3 separate regions of the Homo sapiens genome follow, and all the other regions are linked to region 1. The links are contacts of gene promoters, found by promoter capture Hi-C in human tissues and cell types (Jung and others, 2019). All regions are on one chromosome and are shown on one strand. Each heading gives the region's core, a stretch centred on a gene start or on the middle of the fragment in contact. The rest is flanking DNA. Distances are from core to core; before and after follow the strand shown.

Region 1 (2,922 bases), core at 262-2,761:
ATTTGGAAAGTGAGTGATTCTTTAATTTAGTGATCTTTTTTCTGCACACATAATGATATCAGATCTTATTTTTCATAAAAAGTCTCTCCTTTATCAGATGCGGGAAAGTAGTCCTTTACAAATTTAAGTTTACAAAAAAAAATTCTGGTGACATGCACAAGCTGCCTTCCCTAAACATCTAGACATTGTTTTCAGCTAAATATTTTTTTTAAAAAAACAACCTTTAGTCATATTTAAAATAGGCAGCTTAGTAAGTCAAAGAACTCCCAATGCAGTGAAATAACAAGTAGGCTATTTCGAGAGACCACATGTGTATTTCATAAACAATACGCAAGTTGTAGCAATACCTCTGTCCACAAAATCTGCCCAAAATAGCCCCACCACTGACTTTAATAGGTTAGATATCCAAAGCAGAGTTTTCTTTCTCTATCCCACGGAGGAGATGGGTAAAATAGCCAGACTTGACAGCTGATATTCTGAAGAGTTCTCTTTTTAGTTTTTCTTTAAAAAGACTATTCTTTTCCATATCAACGATTTCATTTTGGAGGCAGTCGCTGAGATAATCTCAGGTGTAAAATAAGCTAATTAAACACACGCCACTTAAATACTGAGATTAGCTGGAGCTCAGGTTTTCAGAGCAAAGCAAGAGCACAAATCAACCCCGCTGAGTTGCTGCTACTCCTGAGATAACCCGACCCCATCACGGAGATTCCCAGGTGGCTGCGAACGTCAACGCTTAGCAGGAACGATTAAGCGATTCACAGCACTCAGGGGATTGTGTAAATGCCCGGCCCGGGCGACCAGCAGGGACAGATTCAACTCCCCGGGCGCAAAGTCATCTCCAGCCCGATCCTCGCTCCCCCTGAAAACCCACCGCTCGTCTCCCCGGGAGCTGCCTCCGTAGGAGAATGTTCGCCCCCAGCCGCGCCCCAACTTTGCCTTGCGTGGTCCCAAACTTTCCCTGGTGGATTAATAGGAAAATAAATCTAAAGGACAGACGCCCCACCTGTGAGCTTGGAGCTGGGTTGCATTTGGTGAGGCGCTTGGCCCGCATCCCCCTGAGTCGTTTGTAGGTGGCTGGGGAATGGAAGCGCCCCTCTGCGCGTCTCCCCCGACGGCAGGCCCTGCCCCACGCCCCCCATCCCAAGCCAAAAGCAAGGGTAGGAGAGGCGGGGGCTCCAAATCCACGCCCCGGAGCACAGAGAGTTGGCTAACTCCTAGCGGGGCCTGGGGCGCCCACATCCACGGCAGAGCCACCTGTGAGCCTGCAGAGCAGCAACGGGATGCGCGCAACCGGGATGCGGGGACGACCGCCACAGCGGCTACAGCGGCAGGCGGGGCGCAGCCGCCCGCACTTACCAGGATAAGATGGGAGGACGCGCACACGGCGGGGCCCCCGAGCGCGGCCCGCCGCTCCAGTCCGCCGGCCCTCCGCCTACCCGCTCTGAGGCCCGGGCTCTGGCTCGCACTGGCTGCCGCTCTCGCCAGCCGGGCTGGGTTCGGGAGGAGACTGAGCCGCTGTGAGCCCGGCGCTCCGAGTCTGGCGCTGCCCGGCCCCCGCCGGCCCCTCCCTCTGGGCTGTGCGCTGTGCGCTGGGAGCGGGGCCGCAGCGCGCTCAGCTCCCGAGTCCTTTGCTCCACGCCTCCTGGGCGCAGAGGCGACGCTGGCAGCCGTCTCTTAGGAGATTTCTCCGCAGTGTGGACGGGGGTCAGGATTTGCAGGCGAGCAAGGGCAGAGAGGAGAAATCGTACAGGTCGGTGACGCGCCTAATTCACAAAGCCTGAAAGTGCTGTCAACTTTGGGGTCATCTTATGCTGGGCACCGCCTCTCCAATTATCTGCAAAAAGTGATAGCAGTCGCGCTTTTCTTTAGGAGGCGATGTGATGTGTAATGGTGGAAAAGACGTTCAATGAAAAGGCACGGAGGCCTGCAGGACAGGCTGTTGGGGTCCAGGGTTTCTTGAGTGTTGGATTTGGATGCTTGGGACACTGCAGGGGCTTCAGTCTTGCAGGGTGACCTTTCATTTCATGGGTGATGAAAGTGAGACCCAAAACCCCGTGTCATTTTGAATCACTGACAGGCTTCGGCTTTTGGCCTCGGGATGTCCAGCCCAGTGCTCCTTCCTGTCCTATCTGGAAAGCAAGATCCCCTTGACCACAAGAAATAGAATCAGGCTTGTTGGGGATGAGAGACTAGAATCTGGGCCAAAGAATGGAAGACGGTGGTAAGACAAATTGGTAGTGAGGGAACCCCTTTTACCCAACCCTGTGACCACCAGCAAAGCTGCCAAGAGGTACCCAACTCGTGAAGCTCTGAAAGCTTTTCGCACATTTTCCCCTCTCCTTACCCTCCATCCTTCTGTTCTCTCCCCCATCCAAGAGGGTTTCTTCATGCCCTCCTTACAATGGGGGTAATGGGTATATCCTGAGAGCTCATGACCTCTGACTTAGAGTACAGCTCTGTAGTCAGACCTCTGGGCCTACTCATCAATAAGTAAAGGGAAGCCTAGGGAACTTAGAAATATTTTTCTTCCCCCCACCCCCCAATCAAAGCCAGGCATTCAAGACTCAACTTTTCTTTTTCTTTCTCCTTTCGAGACTGAATCTTGCTATGTTGCCCAAGCTTGTCTTGAATTCCTGGGCTCTAGCCATCCTCCAGCCTCAGACTCCCAAGTGCTTGCAGACTATAGGTGCCTGACTGAATTTTTTTATCTTTAACTTTTAATTTAGAAAATTTCAAACATATACAAATGTAAGAAAGTAGTATAATGAATCTCCATGGGGCCATAACCAGCTTGAACAATTATGAACTCATGGACAGTCATATTTCATCTATACCCCTTTTTCCTATGTCATCATTTTGAAGCAAATCCCAGAGCATCATATCATTTTATCTGTAAATATTTTCAGAAAGCAAGAAAAC
Region 2 (3,031 bases), core at 24-2,523, 34 kb before region 1:
AGCACTTTCTGGCTCCAAAAATTGGCATCTGGCAGCATCTCCTTCCACCTGCATCAAACTCCAAGCTTCTTTTAGAGAACCAAGCAGTATTTTTAGCAGCAAAGGTATGAAAATGACTGATTACATATTTGAACATGGATACAAAAAAGCACACTTAAAAAAAATTTTAAAAACTCCTATCCTTTCCACAACATTAACAATTTAAACTACACTATGAAGGTAAAAAAGCTTACTACTCAGCTTTCACCAAGGTAAGCCACTGAATGAATTCCTCAGAGATTCTGTCAAAGGAGCCACATCCTCAGTGGCAGGGTAGAAGAAAGGATCCGCCTGCAGCCACAGGCCCTGCCCCACTCATTGCCTCCCCAGGACTACAGTCCACTCTTCTAAGAGCCAGTCTCTTCCTGAAGCCACCCGTCTATCCTCCTTCCCCAAGGCATGAAGAGCGTAGGACTTGGAGCATGACAATCTCATGACAGCCTGGCCAGCCCTATTTCTCACTGTGTGAACTTAAGCACTTCAACTGAACCTTTGAGCCTTGAATTCTTCAATGACAGCGGGACTGGTGCCCAGTGTCTATTCCACTTTCCTTCTAGCATGCCTTCCTGATCTGCAGAGGCTTGGAAATCTGACAGTACAGATGCCCTTGCAGCTGGGTGCAGGGTTTATTTAGGTTCAGCCAATCAGACACTCTCAAGCTGGATTTAGAAGGTGAAAGTCAGGTTAGAGGCTGTGTTTCTGCTCTTTCTCCTGGAAATCATGGGAGGATTTTTTTTTTTTTTTTAATAACCTGTGGTGTTTTGTAACTAGGATCCTAAGCACTGAATGGCAGGGCCCTGGTGGTGGTATGTGCCAAAATGCAACTCCAAGCTTCTTTTAGAGAACCAAAACTGTGCCAAAATGCACAGTTCCAGTGGCAGCATCCCGATTCCTCTCCTGCTCGACAGGCAGAAGCAGCTCTCTTCAGGCAGACCAGTTTTACAGTGAGGTCCGAGACATAGCACACTGAGACCTAGCCTGCTCCACAGGCCTTTCAATGATTTTATAAGCATCCAATTCCTACATTAAAACCTGATCTCTCTTTAAAATAATAAGATGGTTTCTATTTTCTGCAACCGAGCCTAGACTGATATACCTCTCTAACCTTCTGAGCAGGTATAAAGACTGAAAGATGAAAGGCAGGCAAGAGAGCACAGCAGTTAAGAACATAAGCTCTGAGCTCAGATGGCCTGGGCTTAAATCCTGGTCCCGCCTCTAGCTTGATTTGCAACCAGGGGCAAGTTCCTTAATCTCCAGTTTTTACATGATGGGGATACTACAGGATTACATAAGATAATACATGTAGAATCCTTGCCAAGTACTTGGTCCCTAGTAGGAATTCAATACATGTTAGTTTTTTCTTGTCCTAAGTTCTCATAGGACCCTCTGTACACTTCTATTATTGCAGTTATCCCATTGATCAATTCTCTGTGAGCACAAACCCAGAGGACTGTTTATCACATATAAGTAAAAAGTAGAACACCCCAAATTCTAATCCACGTGACTTGGGAGCAACCTTGAAGAACTGAAAAAAATAATTGAAACTTATTAAGTGAAAACATAATTGTATCTACCGTACTGTGTTACGGAAATAGTGTGAAACAGGTGGCCGGGTGTGGAAGTATGACAAAGAGGGGAAATTACAGCAAGAGTTGGCCAGGCCTGTCCAACGGTGCTGAAGGATAGAGGAAATCTTGGCTGGGCAAATGCTCCATTTTCCTCAGTAAGGTCATCCCTGCTGTGGGTCAGAGTCTATCAAGCTATTTTAGCAAAGCAACACTTCTTAAGTCCACTACGATGCCATAATCTGGCTCCTTAGTTTGTTATCTGTAGACAGCCAACGTGCTAGTCAGAACAGTCAACTTCACAGTTTAATTCCTAATCGTAAATTAATAGATTGTCACCTGGTTATTATAATTTTACTCACCTACAGTCAGATACGGCACTGATTTTACCTTTCCATTTGGTTTTAGCGATGTAGCTCTCATTGTATTACAATGGGCTGTAATTGGATTTGTATTAATATATAGCAGTCATAATGAGCTTGGTTCACATAAGTCCACCTAGGAGAGACAATCCCTTTGCAGTGAGCTATCATGATCAGGTTTATGATTCCACTGGGCTGAGGGCCAGGTTCCTGACCATGGCAAATTCACCAAGTTACCTGCTACCTGCTAACTGCTTTGAGTGCCCTGTGTGTCCAGCAATAACCTTCAAATTTGAGCACTGAAACTGTATACAATGATCTGCTTTCATGTCTGTGAAATGACCATTCCTAAATCAGATTTTACCTCCAAATGCCCAGCCAGGCACATACATAGTTGATATATAATAAATATTTGATGAATGAATCCATAAACAAATGGATGTGCCCTTCTGCAGAGGAGTTTTAAAAAAACTATAGAAATGGCAAGAAAGAAAATAAATCCAAAGGGACTCTGAGAAGAAGAGAATCATAGGCTTAAATATTTTGTGGTGATTCTTTGCAAATATTCAAAGCTTAGCTATTGATATTCTAACATTTTTGGACAGCTTTTTATATAATGCTGTTATCATGAGTGTATTAATTTTCTATTGCTGCTCTAACACATTACCACAAAATTTGATGCTGACAACAATATTTATATATTATCCTACAGTTTCTGTTGTCAGAAGTCCAGGCCCAGCATGGCCCAGCTGGGTTCTCTGCTTGGGCAGTCATGTAATTATGTGACAACTAATTCACCTTTGAGAAGCACTACTGATTATCCTAAAGTTCCAGATTATTCTGGAGCTAAAAACCAGATTTTGTCTGGCTCCATTTCAGACCAGGCTCTTTGAAAGAAACTTTGACTTAAGTCTGTTCACTTCAATCGGAAAAAGATGATGTTTCTCTAGTCTTTCTCTAGCAAATGCTCAAGTTTAGGGAAGTGTTTTAGGGAGAGAAAACGTGACATCAGAAATGTATAAAACTAGAGCTTGATATTCACACTTCTTTTACTGAAGCTTTTTT
Region 3 (2,700 bases), core at 115-2,614, 53 kb after region 1:
AAATGTTTGAGGAGAGACTTAATACTTCCCAATTTCCCTATTCAGCTATACAGGAGCTTTTCCTGGGCCCTTAGCTAATCTCTTTTATGACTTGATTTCTGGGGAATGACCTTGAATTTTTCTTCTGGTTTAATGAACAGATATTCATCAAATTGGGATTACAGATTGTTTTGTAACTTTATATTTATTTTGCATTTAAATTGGTATCCAGTTTTTCATTGAGGTAAAATTTACATAGGATGAAATGTATTTATTTTAAGTGTGTCATTCAATGAGTTTTGACAAGCGCATATTTCTGTGTGACCTCCACCCCAATCAAGCATACAACATTTCTATCACCCTAGAAGGTACCCTTGAGCTCCCTTCCCCTCTCTCTGATTTTTATCATCTTAACGTTAGTTTTACCAGTTACAGAACTTTATAGAAAGGGAGTCATACAGCATTTACCTTTAAACTGGCTTCTTTTGCTCAACATTTTTTTAAAGAATTATCCATGTTGCTGTGTGTATCAGGAGTTAATTCCTTTTTATTGATGAGTAATTTTCCATTGTACATAAGGGAATATATATCAATCTTCCTGTTGATGAACAGCTGGATGGTTTATAGTTTTTTTTTATGAACCATAGACTTTTCAATCACCATTGGCTTAAATGAACACAAAGAACATCTAAGTTTTCTATAACCACTCAATAAACACGTATTTATTAAGAGCTTACTCTGAGCCAGGCATTATTTTAAATGCTGAGGATGCAAAAATGAACAAAAAAGCATCTCTGTTTTTGTGGAGATTGTTTTCTGGAGAAGAGACTAAAAATAAGTAAGACAGATATAACATTATATGTCAATAAGTGTTATGGAGTAAAATAAGGCAGAGAAGGGGAATAGGGAGTGTGAGGTGTCCAGGGATGCCATCACTAAGGGGATGGCATTTGGGCAAAGACCTGAAGGAGATGAGGGGCAAGTCATCTGGATATCTGGGAAAGAAGCATCCTTGGTAAAAGAAGAGCAAGGTGAAACCCTTCAGGCAGACACATACCTGGTCTTTTCAATGTGCATAGGTGAAGTGCCCCTCAAAGGGATTGGTAGATGATGGGTTAGGGGAGGGCATAATGTGCTAGGTAGGATGACATGCCAGTTATCAATTTATTACCTCTCAGCTCTTAATTCACCTTTTTGGCCTGTTCTTTGAAATTGGATCTGTGCCCTTTAAATAGTTTTTCCTTGCCAGGTCACACTGAAGCTTTGTCAAGTGAGGACACTGAATAGGATTGGAATATTGGTAACAAGGAAGTCTGGGGAAGAGGTATATGGCTGGATCTCTCTGAATGGACACAGACTGCAGATATTTGTACCCAATATCAATGCTCATCAACAGGCATCCATTGCAGAGGAGACTCTTAATAATCAGGGGGGCATAATTATTCATTCTGTGGATATCAGTAACACCAGCCACCCTAGTGCTTATTGGGCCCATGAATAAAGTGTCTATGGTGGCAGGGATGGAGGCTAAGCATGGGCTTAACAGCATGAACTTCTCCTTATGAAGAATTATCTGTCTAATATTACTGTTGAGTATCCAATCTGCCAACAGCAGATACCAAGATGGAATCCTGGATATGCCACCATTCCCTGTGGGAACTGACCAGTCACCTGGTGACAGATTGATTACATTAGACATCTTCTATTATGGAAGTGGCAGAGATTCATCTTCCTAGGAAGCATACATATTCTAAATAAGAATTTACATTTCCTGCTCATAATGCTTCTGTCAGCACCGCATCCAAGGACCCTCAGAATGCCCTATCCATCATCATGGATTTCTGTACAGTATTGAGTCTGATCAATAAACTAATTGTCTACAAAAGAAATGCAGCACTGGGATCATAACTGTTGAATGAACTGGTCTTACTACATACTCCATGATCCAGAAGCAGCTAGCTTAACTGAAAGGTAGAATGGCTTACTGAAGACTCAGTTATGATGTAGTTAGGAGACAACACTTGAAAAGAATGGGCTCTATTATACAGGAAACGATTTATGCTTTGAATCAGAGGTTATTATATGTTGCTGTCCCCATGGCCAGAATACATGGGTCCAGAAATCAAGGGATGAAAGTAGGAATGGCTACTCTCACAATTCCAAGTAATATCTCACTCACAGAAATTCTGCTTCTTATCCTGGCAACTTTGAGCTATACTGGTTTAGAGACCTTAGTCTCCAAGGGGGGGATGTTCCCACCAATGAACACAATGGTTCCACTAAACTGAAATATGAAACTACAACTTAGAAATTTTGAGTGCTTTATGCTACTGAACCAATAGCTGTATTGTATATATTGTGCTTTTATCTATTCTACACAGTCCTTCTATCTGACAGTCCCCCTCTAAAATTTCTGATATCTCTCCATTCTTCAAACACAGCTCAGATCACTAAGCTTCCACTAAGCTCCCAAGTTCCTGGGGATCTCTCCCTTCTATAATAAATGATTTTATACTTTATAATGTTTTTCCTAATGTTGGATTATCACTTAATTATTATGTTTTCAATGTTTAGATTTTATATCCCCCAGCTGATTGTAGGGTCATTTGAAGCCAGAACTGTGTCTTTGTACTTCTGTATATATCCCGTGGTAGTGTTTCTCAAGTGCTGGTGCCAGTCCATGAACAATGCTGTCATCTGTTTAGGGCAAAAGGGAAAAAA

The links. Contacts are between HindIII fragments. The study calls those that stand out against the background at their distance.
Region 2: a contact is called between a fragment that was not itself captured here and the fragment with the promoter of SLC24A2 in region 1, in 5 of the 25 tissues and cell types used here (H1 embryonic stem cells, aorta, dorsolateral prefrontal cortex and 2 more).
Region 3: a fragment that was not itself captured here is called in contact with the fragment with the promoter of SLC24A2 in region 1 in 3 of the 25 tissues and cell types used here (bladder, dorsolateral prefrontal cortex and psoas muscle).

The regions. Positions count from the first base shown.
Region 1 is chr9:19,787,526-19,790,447 of GRCh38, forward strand. SLC24A2 (solute carrier family 24 member 2) reads right to left here and starts at 1,512. Exons shown (of 11, transcript NM_020344.4): 1 at 1,360-1,512. It overlaps LOC124902128 (a long non-coding RNA gene), which reads left to right and starts at 1,634. Exons shown (of 2, transcript XR_007061432.1): 1 at 1,634-1,753. RefSeq lists an enhancer at 428-1,075. The HindIII fragment of the contact is 14,556 bases long and covers 1-2,922 here.
Region 2 is chr9:19,753,879-19,756,909 of GRCh38, forward strand. The region is part of intron 2 of SLC24A2 (solute carrier family 24 member 2); the gene reads right to left. Among named protein-coding and RNA genes, the nearest start is that of SLC24A2, 34 kb to the right of the region's middle. The HindIII fragment of the contact is 3,016 bases long and covers 1-2,781 here.
Region 3 is chr9:19,840,412-19,843,111 of GRCh38, forward strand. It overlaps a transcript of SLC24A2 not described here. Among named protein-coding and RNA genes, the nearest start is that of SLC24A2, 53 kb to the left of the region's middle. The HindIII fragment of the contact is 5,030 bases long and covers 1-2,700 here.